Regions from separate parts of the Homo sapiens genome. Here all the other regions are linked to region 4. The links are contacts of gene promoters, found by promoter capture Hi-C in blood cells and fetal thymus (Javierre and others, 2016). All regions are on one chromosome and are shown on one strand. Each heading gives the region's core, a stretch centred on a gene start or on the middle of the fragment in contact. The rest is flanking DNA. Distances are from core to core; before and after follow the strand shown. Region 1 has its middle 170 kb from the start of NDUFV2. Region 2 has its middle 190 kb from the start of NDUFV2. Region 3 has its middle 150 kb from the start of NDUFV2. Region 4 holds the start of MTCL1 (microtubule crosslinking factor 1).

What was found. Contacts are between HindIII fragments. The CHiCAGO score rates a contact against its expected background, and 5 or more counts as called.
Region 1: a fragment that was not itself captured here is called in contact with the fragment with the promoter of MTCL1 in region 4 in 1 of 17 cell types (total B cells); the score reaches 6.7 in total B cells.
Region 2: a fragment that was not itself captured here is called in contact with the fragment with the promoter of MTCL1 in region 4 in 2 of 17 cell types (total B cells and naive B cells); the score reaches 6.8 in total B cells.
Region 3: a contact is called between a fragment that was not itself captured here and the fragment with the promoter of MTCL1 in region 4, in 4 of 17 cell types (total B cells, naive B cells, megakaryocytes and 1 more). The highest score is 8.8, in total B cells.

Annotation. Positions count from the first base shown.
Region 1 is chr18:8,930,691-8,933,624 of GRCh38, forward strand. No RefSeq gene overlaps it. Among named protein-coding and RNA genes, the nearest start is that of NDUFV2, 170 kb to the right of the region's middle. The HindIII fragment of the contact is 1,502 bases long and covers 504-2,005 here.
Region 2 is chr18:8,906,398-8,909,479 of GRCh38, forward strand. No RefSeq gene overlaps it. Among named protein-coding and RNA genes, the nearest start is that of NDUFV2, 190 kb to the right of the region's middle. The HindIII fragment of the contact is 3,839 bases long and covers 1-3,082 here.
Region 3 is chr18:8,949,926-8,952,653 of GRCh38, forward strand. No RefSeq gene overlaps it. Among named protein-coding and RNA genes, the nearest start is that of NDUFV2, 150 kb to the right of the region's middle. The HindIII fragment of the contact is 1,937 bases long and covers 300-2,236 here.
Region 4 is chr18:8,704,127-8,707,042 of GRCh38, forward strand. MTCL1 (microtubule crosslinking factor 1) reads left to right here and starts at 1,430. Exons shown (of 15, transcript NM_001395333.1): 1 at 1,430-2,587. The coding sequence starts at 1,535. All of the region lies in intron 1 of GACAT2 (gastric cancer associated transcript 2), which reads right to left. RefSeq lists silencers at 775-1,214, 1,595-1,654. The HindIII fragment of the contact is 5,801 bases long and covers 1-2,916 here.

The sequences.
Region 1 (2,934 bases), core at 5-2,504, 230 kb after region 4:
ATTGTCCTGGGGGGTCTCCTGGGGTAGGAACGGCTGGAGACAGGGAAGCTCAGGTATATCACCCACAGGACCAACCTCAGGCATACAGCCTCTTTCATTCCATTTAAGCCCAAAGCAAACACTTACCTTCATGTGGCAACCAATGGCCTCCCCCAGCCAGTTCCTCAGGACCTGAGGGTGCTACAATCTCCCAAACTGCCCTTATGCCAAGGACTTCTGCCAAAAGGTGGCATCACTTGGCTTGTGTTTTGGATTTCAGTATTATTTGTTTTTACCCCTGCTCATGACCTTTCATAATGTCTGAAACATGATATTCCCAGAAGATTTGCTCATTCCTCTATTTTTAGGAAAATATTATAGGGGCAGAAGGAAAACTTCTGAAGATTCACTGAAAAATCAACTTACAAAAGTCAGATGAATTGGAGGAAAGGCATACAAAATGTAACAACGTGTATATGGGGAGCATCACTGAGTGATTACCCAACCCACCAATGGGGTGCAGAAGCTTCTATGTGAGCTCAGAGCATGGTCAAAATAAGGCTACGGTGATGAATCCAGTTATGGGAGGGAGGGGAATGAGAGTTGGCTAGCAAAGAGAGTCTTGTTATGTAAATAAAACCTCATAGGTAGAAACCCTCAGAAAGAATAGATGCTAAATGTTTCTTTAGACCTTTAAAAGTGACAAATTCTAAGTTTGTCTTTCCTGAATTCTGACAAGGGAGAGCCTGGCTTCCTCTATGCAGATTCTCTGTAGATGCAAATTTTCCCCACAAAAGACAGCTTTGCAGGGCTACTTCTGCAGGCTGGCTCTCTGGCAGCCATCTCAACATACGTCAAACAAATGTATTTTAGGGTACAATATTTTTATTTCCTTCAATATCAAAAAATAATGTGCTATTTCTGTAACTGCATTTTGTCTGTTAGTTCAATAGTGGTGTCACGTGTTGTCTTGTTTATTAACTATAAACCAGTGGTTCTAACCTGGGGAGTGGGTGGGTAATTTTGCCCTTGAGGGGATATTTAACAATATCTGAATAATTTGGTGGGAGGCAGTGCTAGGAGCATCTAGTGGGTAGAGGCCAGGGAAGCTGCTAACATCCTGCAATGCAGAGGATAGCCCTCACCATAAAGAATTATCTGTCTCAAAACATCAGTGGTGTTGAGGTAGAGGCACCGCTCTATAACCTAAGAGAAGAAAGGTAGTCATCACTGTTAAATGGTAATTTTCAAAAAAGGCAAATTCATGACTCTCATACAGATATAAAAATGAACCCGTGATAAAGATTTTCTTTTACTCATGAGGGAAGCAGACAAATACTATAGCCCGTTTAAAAGAAACTCCAAAGAGCAAATTTATGGATCAGTTGTATGAAAATTGATATGCCAATTGAGGCAAACTGATTTTCCCACAGTGGGAGGGAAGTTAATTGAACCTCCAGCAGACGGGACATGATTTGCATCCTACACTGCGGAGTGGGTGGGTGATTTACAGTGATTTACAGAACTGTAAAATAGATCCCATGGAACCGGAATCATACAGAATGGTGTTCTGCGAACTACATCAGGGCAAAACACTGAGGCTTGTCAGAATTAAATGTTTGCTCCATCAAGGTCAGTTTAAAGTCACTTGAGAATGAAGAACTAACTCAAAGAAAAGTTTCAACATCAGAGTATTATTTTTATTTTTATTTTCTTAGTAGAGTCTCATTCTTTTGCCCAGGCTGGAGTGCAGTGGCACGATCTTGGCTCACTGCAACCTCCAGCTCCCATATTAAAGCGATTCTCCTGCTCAGCCTCCCAAGTAGCTGGGATTACAGGCATCTGCCACCATGCCCAGATAACTTTTGTGTTTTTTTGTGGCAATGGGGTTTCACCATGCTGGCCAGGATGGTCTCAAACTCCTGACCTTGGGTGGTCTGCCCGCCCTGGCCTCCCAAAGTGCTGTAATTACAGGCGTGAGCCACGATCCCTGGCCTCATCTGGTTGTTCAGAGTAGACTTTCTGAAGCTTCAATGTGCATATGATCACCTGGGATCTTCATGTCTAGGATGAAGTTTGAGTCTTGGTGTTTGTAACAAGCTCCCAGGTCAGGCCAGCCAATACTACCAGTTGATGGACACACTTTGAGTAGCTAAGGTTGGAGAAAAGAAATTTCTTTGTTACAAAGTAAGGAAACCAAAGACAGAAACACTACAAATAGGTTATAGATCTCATCAGTCTCTTGAGCTAAGAAATAAGCCTTTGAAATCCTTAAAACACCCAAGGCATCAGAATTTGCAGGACATGGACCAGACCAGGATACTGGGACTTCTCTTTGGTGTGGAAGACCAGTACAAACAAAAAAGATGTAGTCACCCAACAGGTTCTTCCTGCTACTGCACAGACAAAGCCAGTTCACTGAGTCCATGGTATTGCAGCAAAGAAAGAGTTTAACTTGAGGCCAGCCACATGGGAGAACTCAAGTCAGTCTCCCCACAGATTCAGAAGCTAGAGTTTTTCAAGGATAGTTTGGTAGCATTGGAGTAGGGAATGGGTGCTGCAGATTGGTTGGGGATGCAATCATTGTGAGGCAGGAGAATAGGGTCTGGAGGCAAGGAACACAAGGCTGATTCATGCTGACTTCCTAGAACTAAATCAAATGGAAACACTTCAGCTATGACAGGAAATATCCTCTCCATTTACATAGGGCATACACCAAGTAACCAAAAGGAACCTCTAGAAGGTATTTAAACCCAAGAAAATTCCGTAACCAGGCTCTTGAGCTCCTATGCTCAGGCCCGCTCCCACCCTGTGGAGTGTATTTTTCATTTTCAATAAATCTCTGCTTTTGTTGCTTCATTCTTTCCTTGCTTTGTTTGTGTGTTTTGTCCAATTCTTTGTTCAAGATGCCAAGAACCTGGACACCCTCCACCAGTAATAATAGAGATGTGCAAA
Region 2 (3,082 bases), core at 409-2,908, 200 kb after region 4:
CACTTTGAGAGGCCGAGGTGGGAGGATCACCTGAGGACAGGAGTTTGAGACCAGCCTGACCAATATGGTGAAACCCCATCTCTACTAATAATACAAAAATTAGCCGGGCATGGTGGTATGCACCTGTAATCCCAGCTACTCAGGAGGCTGAGGCAGGAGAATTGCTTGAACCCAGGAGGAAGCAGAGGTTGCAGTGAGTGGAGGTTGCACCACTGCACTCCAGCCTGGGAGAAAGAATGAGACTCTGTCTAAAAAAAAAAGAAAAAGAAAAAATGCTCAATATCACTAATTATCAGGAAAATGTAAATCAAAACAACAGTGAGATACCACCTTACCCTGGCAAGAATGGCCATAATTTAAAAATAAAAAAAATAACAGATGTTAGCATGGATGTGGTGAAAAGGGAACACTTATACACTGCTGGTGGGAATGTAATCTAGTACAACCACTATGGAAAACAGTATGGAAATTCCTTAAAGAACTAAAAGTAGAACTACCATTTGACCCAGCAACCCCACAACTGGGTATCTACTGAGAGTAAAAGAAGTCATTATATGAAAAAGACACTTGTACATGCATGTTTATAGCAGCACAATTCACAATTGCAAAAGTATGGAACCAGCCTAAACGTCCATCAACCAACAAGAGGATAAAGAAACGAGTGGTATATATATGAATACTAATCAGCCATATACCACATTATATATATATGGTGTGTGTATATATATATACACACACACACACACACCATTATACATATAATGGTATATATATTATTTTATATATATGGTGTATCTATATATTCCATACATATGGTGTATATATATATATATATTCCATATATATAATATATATGGAATGGAATACTACTCAGCCATAAAAAGAAGTGAAATAATGCTATTTTCAGTAACCTGGATAGAGTTGGAGATGATTATTCTAAGTGAACTCAGGAATAGAAAACCAAACATCATATGTTCTTACTTATAAGTGAGAGCTAAGCTATGAGGACACAAAGGCATAAGAATGATATAATGGACTTTGGGGACTCAAGGGTAAGGGTGGGAGTGGGGGAGGGATAAAAGGCTACACACATTGGGTACAGTGTACACTTCTCAGGTGACAAGTGCACCAGAATCTCAGAAATCACCACTAAAAAATTTTTCCATGCAACCAAACACCACCAGTTCCCAAAAACTTTTGAAATACATTTTTAAAGTAATTTAAAAAAATTAGATAGATTTTTCTATAAGATTTTATTAAGAACTAGGTTTGACATCAATAGTACACTAATGCAAAGGTGAATTTTGGCTTTCTCTGTTGAATAAGATTCTTTGTAATATGAGGAAAATAATGAAAGATTTTTGTTTCCTCTTTGAATAAACTACATGAAAAAGAGTGGAAAGCAAAAAGACAGATTGTTTGGAAAGCTCAGTCTTCCTTCTATCAATGAGTAAATGTTTTTGCCTTTTTAAAATCTTTAAATTATCATTTTAGCAAAATAAATGACTTACAGTGACCTGGGATTCTATTTTATAATATCAAGCGTTTTGAACCTTTGATATTTGACAAACTTCCCAAAATCAAATTATAAATTATGTCTTTTTCTGATCTAATTGATCTTTTAGATATTGGGTTGCCTAAAGTCCAAAGATGACATATATTTGACTTATTTGGTATATTAAAATCATACAGGAAGCATTGTTGGGTATGAAATGGTGTTTGGCTTTCTTTGGGCTGTATTTGTATAGATGTGTTATTGGTATGTGTTCCAAAATTATGGGAAGCTCCTATAATTCTGATATGACTTAGTATATATTGTCAGGAATAATTATGATTGTTTTGTTGATTATTGTGTGCCACAGAGGTAACCAAATTTCCTTGTCAATTGTGTCTTTGAGTATGGCTGTCCTAAGTCTTTTTGTCATCCACAGACAATATTTGTCTTGTTTTGATCCTCTTTAAAAGGAGGTGTAGGCCGGGCATGGTGGCTCACACTTATAATCCCAGCACTTTGGAAGGCTGAGGTGGGCTGATCACAAGGTCAGGAGATTGAGACCTTCCTGGCTAACATGGTGAAACCCTGTCTCTACTAAAAATACAAAAAAATTAGCCAGGCATGGTGGTGGGTGCCTGTAGTCCAGCTACTTGGGAGGCTGAGGCAGGAGCATGGCATGGACTCAGGAGGTGGAGCTTGCAGTGAGTCAAGATCATGCCACTGCACTCCAGCCGGGGTGAGAGAGCAAGACTCTGTCTCAAAAAAAAAAAAAAAAAATGGTGGTGTATAATCAGTTATAGGACTCTGACAAGTGCCTTTGAATGTAGATCTCTGATGACTTTGGAAAGTGTGCCATGAAAATAGAGAAGAAATAACTTCCAAGACTCTCTTGGAAAACTACTGTGTTCATGAATGTCAAACAGAAGAGGAATTAATTGCATAGACTGAACTAGTAAAAGATTGAAATAGTTTTTTCATGACTTCCTGCTTGAAATACTGTTGATCCTTTCTGTTTTGTTTTTCAGAGTCAAGAAAACTTTTTGGGGGTTGCTATTTACAGCTTTTGGCAATTGAGTGGAGTATATGCCTATGAGCAAAATTTGGAGCATATCTCCTTCTACCTGATTTCTCCAGAATTTGAAAACTATTCATGAGTATTCTTAACTTATGGCAATATAGTTATTTACGTAAGTGCAATAATAATCTGTTTTCTTTGTAACAGGACACAATTGGAGAAACTGGTTATTTTACCAGGGCCTTGGCTGGAATGGTATTCTTTTAAATATAAACAGACTGCTTTAAGGAATCAAAGTTGACTTATAGAGCCAATGAAAGCCCCTAGGGAAAGCTAGCCTCATTCCTTGTCTACACAGTCTCTGTCCAAGGTTCCTGACCTGCGGTAGATGAAGAATAAAGAATGTCACTTTCTGACAGGCCCAGGAGCTGCAAGTTATCTTGGGACCTCAAGAGGTGAGGAATTTACCCCTCAGGCAGTTATTTGCAAGTACAAACCCATGGCTGGGCTCAAGGCTTTGAGAGGTCTAATCTGAGATTCCTTGTAGAACAAAGTTCCATCAAAGCCAATTT
Region 3 (2,728 bases), core at 18-2,517, 250 kb after region 4:
GGTGGCACCAAGAGCCAGCGTGGCAGAGGAGGGGGGAGGTGCGGGAAGCAAACTGCGGGAGAAGAGGTCGCACTGAGAGAGTGCCGCTGCTGACTTAGGGATGTGCAGTCTTTTGAATGATTGCTATTTTCCAGATCCTGTAATAGACTAAATGATACCCCAGAGAAATTCGAATAATAGTGATGACACGTCCACAGGGGGCAGATTTACCAAGAAACCTAAGCTGTAAGGCCTGTCACCTGTAAGCCCTGGGAGGGGCCCTAGCAGTTTTTATGTTTGTTATTTTGCATATATGCACAAGCTTCAGGGACAAAACTTAGGTCCACCCACGGGCCCCTCCCCAGGCCTTGGAAAAGGACATGCACATAAGGAACACCACAGTCAAAGTTTCCTCAGCATCACGCCATCTCCATCCCGTCATGACATCTAACTGCACTGAAAGAAATGAGCATCTAGCTGAGGTTAAGTTTCTGCACATGTGCGTATGTGTATTGCATAGACTTTAAGGTGGCCCCATGACCCCTGTGACTTGCTCCTAACCAACAGAATATGACCAACGTGATGCAGTGTGACTCTCAGGATTATGTAGTTATATAAGACTTGGTCTGTTTGAAAGATTTGAAGAAGCCAGCTACCCTGAGGTCTACATCTTTCCACAGCCTTGGTGAGTTTGGATGGAGACCCTTACCCATGGGAGTCTCGAGATGAGAACGCAGCCCTGGTCAGGACCCTGATTGCAGTTTTGCTGAGGACCCAGCTAGGCTGTGCCCAGACACCTGCCCCACAGAAACATAATAAATGTGTGTTGTTTTAAGCCATTGAGTTTACGGTAATTTGTTATGCAGCATAAAAAAATGGATACAATAAGTAAACATAAGGATAATAGTCCTTGCTTTGCTGGGTTGATGTGAGGATTGTATGGGATATGTGAAGGTGGTGCTATGGTGTGAATGACTGTGTCCCTCCCTCCAAAATGCAGGTGTTGGAACCTAATCCTCAACGTGGTGGTAGGTTTACCACCTGAAGCAGAGAACAGCCCTCACCAGATACTGAACCAGCTGGTGCCTTAACATTGGACTTCCAGCCTCCAGAACTGTGAGATGTAAGTTTCTGTTCTTTATAAATGACCCAGCCTCAGGCATTTTGTTATAGCAGCAGGAACAGACTAAGATAGTGGCCAACACAATTCCAGGTGCCTGGTAATGCTTCCCTTCTGCCCCTTCAGGGACAGAAGTTCTAGAAAGAAGCAATAGGTCTAGTGAGAAGCAACTCATCCCAACTCTATTAGAGTTGACTTAGAGGCCCAGGCCAATTTAGTTGGTGGGACAGTAAGTGTTTTAGAAGTAGACTTGGGTTCAGATCATGGCTCCATTACACCCCAGCTGTATGATTCTGGGGAAGTGTTGTGCTGGACCCCTGTTGATTCCAATAGGGATGGTGCCCTGTCCGAGAGGCTGAAGAAGAGATCCAGAGCTAGTAGACCAGACTGTTGATTGAGGACCCACATACGGGGCAGTCCAGGAACGGGGGGCTAGACATGAGAACTGCTATTGTTTGAAAAAGCATGCAGTTTATATGGCAATTTTCACTTCCCACCCTCCATCTATCAACCTCTGTTTAAACCAAAACAAAGGCTTCAATCCCCTGTACACCTGTGTTCCAAGGAATGGACCAGGGGTTCGGATGTCCCTCATAGATAAGGAGTGAGTCTCTGGGTTGGCCACTCCCAGACACACATTCTTCTTAGACCACAGGGTCATTCTCAGGGTGTGCTTAAGTTACTGCTGTCAGTTGCATCTGCCATACAGGAAGTCACTTAACCACCTTGACTGGTGCAGTCTTCACCTGCAAAGGAAACATGTACTTAACTTCCCAGGGGACAGAGGAAACCAAAGCAGATAAAAATACATAGAAACCATTTTGTGTAGTCGCTGGCATGGAATAAGAGCTCAACAAAGGTCCTTTCCCTTAGTCTCTTGCATTTCAGGACCACAAACTCTCCACCTGGAAGCCCCTGTCCTATCCTGCTGCACCCCTGCACCGCCCTGCTCATCTGCCCTTCTCCACTCTTCTCTGGAAAACCCTCCTGCCTTGGCCCAGCTCCATTCTTTCCAGGGCTCCTTCTTAGAGGATGTGCTTTGGGAAGGAGCTCGTTAGTGCACTCAAACCAAGGGGTTCACAGTCCATGATTTAATATGAGGGGTTCCCTGGGGCACTTGGCTTTTCGCAGGGCTTAAGCTTTCAACCTGAGGATGAATCTTTAATGACAGTACTTCAACACTTGGGACAGAACCCTAGGGGATGGTGATGAGCAGTCGGTCTTCACTATGCACTTTGGACCCTGCACTGAGCCCCATGGCCTACTCTTCCTGGGCTAAGCATTGTGCTGGAGTGGACGGGACCATCAGCCTGAAACCATGAACACACCCAGTCACTGGGCAGAAATGAGAGGTGGCACACACTTCCGACCCAGCTGCTCAGAGGCGAAGTGATATTTCACGCCTGAAATGTTCATCTCATAAAACTCTTAAAATATGCTAATTAATGGTAAACTGGGCAGATACTTTTCTGTTAAAGAACAGATTACAGCACTAAGTGACCCAGGGAGATCACATTCTAAAATGGATGCTCCAGACTAAGGTAACTTGATACGCTGCCCTTTTGACCAGAATTTGCTGGGAAAGAAATAAACCATATCATCATATAGTTTGTGGTATGTGAAGGTGAA
Region 4 (2,916 bases), core at 180-2,679:
CTCCTCCTTGTAATTATTACCTGACCCTCTGCCTCCTGCAACGCCAGGGCTGGAGGACAGGCTGGCCCCTATTCCTATGGGCACTGGCCAACATCCAACGCCTGGGACATAAACTGCACCCAATGGTATGTGAACTGTACTTTACAGTTTGCACGGTGTGTTCTGGTATTTGCTAAATCTTCACACATGCTCAGGTGGCAGTACGTTTTAATGATACAGGCGAGGGAACTGGGGCTCAGAAAGGTCTAGTGCCTTGCGCATGGGAGACTCAAGTGGTAGAACCGGTGGCCGGGCTCCGGGCTCTGAGCGGAAAGCCTGCAGGACTCGGAATCCTGAAGACCTGGGTTTAAACCCGCTCAGCTAGGGACTGGGTGAGGCATCGCAGGCAAGTGACTTCACCTCCCAGCGCCGGTGCCCTAGTCTTCACCGAAGACAGCAATTCCAATCTGGGACTGTGGTGAGGCTTAAATAAAACACTGCTCAGTAAGTGGCCAGCAGGCCTGGCTCGCAGCCGGAACTATAAATGTGAGTTCCCTTTCTGACCCCCAGGTTTGGCGAGGGCTCCTCCTGTTTGGGCAGCAGCTCCTCCTGAGCTCCCGAGGCCACGGGGGTGCCAACTGTGGAGCGCCCGCCGTGCCGTTTAGACGCGAGAGCTGCGTCGGGTACCAGCGATCCTTAAAGGAGCTCGGGGACCAGGGGCACAGCTTGGAGAGGACAGCGAGGGAGGTGACTGGCCTCGGGGAGGCGGGCGGTGGATGGAGAGGCATGAGAGGGGTGTTGTCAGCCGCGGCACACGCCTTCCCCAAGTGGCCGGCGCCGCCCCTTGCCACCACTTCACCTCCGCCTCTTCCCTTCCTCCCTAGCTCCTGGCAGCGTCTCTAGGGCCTCAAAAAGCAAGGAGGGTCCCCGGGCAGCGAGGCCCCATGGATCCAGCCTGCGCCTGCTCCCAAGGGCGCGCAGGTCCCGCCCCTGCCGGGCGCCCGCCCCCCGGGGAGCGCAAGCCCCCGCCCCTTCCCTCGCCCCTCCCCTGCACGGCGCCGGCTGGCTGGAGGCGGGGCATGCGCACGGGCCTGGGCGAGGGCGCTGGGCGGCGGGGAGGTGGGGCGCGCGCGTGCGGCTTCTCTCAGCCGGGAGCGGCGGGGGCGGGCACGGGCAGCAGCGGGCCGGCGGTGGGCGGGGAGCGGGACGCGGGAGCCGGGCGCGCGCCGCCAGCGCCGCCGCGGCACCGGTGACCGCGAGCCCGGAGCGCGAGGTCCGGGGATGCGAGCGGCCGGGAGCCGCCGCGCTGCTGAGCCGGGAGAACTCGATCCGCGGTGACCTCAGCGAGGGGCGAGCGCGGCGGCGGCGAGCCCCGCGGGAATCCTCGGGGCCGGGGTGCGGGGGGCGGGGACGGCGGGAGCGCGGGGCGCAGCCCGGGCGGGGCTGGGACAGTGATGAGAGAGCGCGCGGGGAGGCTGCACGCCGCCGCCGCCGCCGCCGCCGCCGTCGTCGTCCGGAGCATCTGCTGCCTGAGCTGCTGCCGGCGGACCCGGCCATGGAGACACTGAACGGCCCCGCGGGCGGAGGTGCCCCGGACGCGAAGCTGCAGCCGCCCGGCCAGCACCACCGCCACCACCACCTCCACCCGGTGGCCGAAAGGCGGCGGCTGCACCGTGCGCCCTCGCCCGCCAGACCCTTCCTCAAGGACCTGCACGCCCGGCCCGCCGCGCCCGGCCCGGCCGTCCCCTCCTCGGGCCGAGCCCCGGCTCCCGCCGCCCCGCGCTCGCCCAACCTCGCGGGCAAAGCGCCGCCCTCGCCGGGGTCCCTGGCCGCGCCCGGCCGCCTCTCTCGGCGCAGTGGCGGCGTCCCGGGCGCGAAGGACAAGCCCCCGCCGGGCGCCGGGGCCAGAGCGGCGGGCGGTGCCAAGGCTGCCCTGGGAAGCAGGAGGGCGGCGCGCGTGGCGCCCGCGGAGCCGCTGTCCCGGGCTGGGAAGCCTCCCGGAGCCGAGCCGCCGTCTGCCGCTGCCAAGGGCCGCAAAGCCAAGCGCGGCTCCCGGGCGCCACCCGCCCGCACCGTCGGCCCCCCGACCCCGGCCGCCCGGATCCCTGCCGTGACCCTCGCGGTGACCTCGGTGGCCGGGTCCCCGGCCCGCTGCTCGCGCATCAGCCACACGGACAGCAGCTCCGACCTCTCTGACTGCCCCTCCGAACCCCTGTCCGACGAGCAGCGCCTGCTCCCTGCCGCCAGCAGCGACGCCGAATCCGGCACGGGCTCCAGCGACCGTGAACCCCCACGAGGAGCGCCGACGCCGAGCCCCGCAGCCCGAGGAGCGCCGCCGGGCAGCCCCGAGCCCCCAGCGCTCCTCGCCGCGCCCCTCGCCGCGGGCGCCTGTCCCGGGGGCCGGAGCATCCCGAGCGGGGTTTCGGGGGGTTTCGCGGGGCCCGGCGTGGCGGAGGATGTCCGGGGGCGCTCGCCACCGGAGCGACCAGTCCCCGGGACCCCCAAGGAGCCCAGCCTGGGCGAGCAGTCTCGGCTCGTGCCAGCGGCGGAGGAAGAAGAGCTGCTGCGGGAGATGGAGGAGCTGCGCTCGGAGAACGACTATCTCAAGGTGAGCCGCGCCTCGGCCGCAGGTGTCCCGGGGCGCCCCCGGAGGGCCTGGCTGCGGCGGGGACCCGCCAACCCCTCCTTCCCGGGCCTGTCCAGCGCCTTCTCCCTCCTGCTCTCCACGGTCCTACCCCCGCATTGTCAGGCATTGGCAACTTAAGCCCAAACTTCTGGAAGGAGAAGCAAGACCTGTGGGACCCCGCCAGTTCGCAACCCACTTCTCTTTTCTCGCGTCTAGAACTCTTGCGTCTCTTCGCTGATACTTTTACTTTTGTTGACCTGTTGGGGCAGAGGAGGCTGTAATCGTTTTGGGGACATCAGCGGACGCCCCCA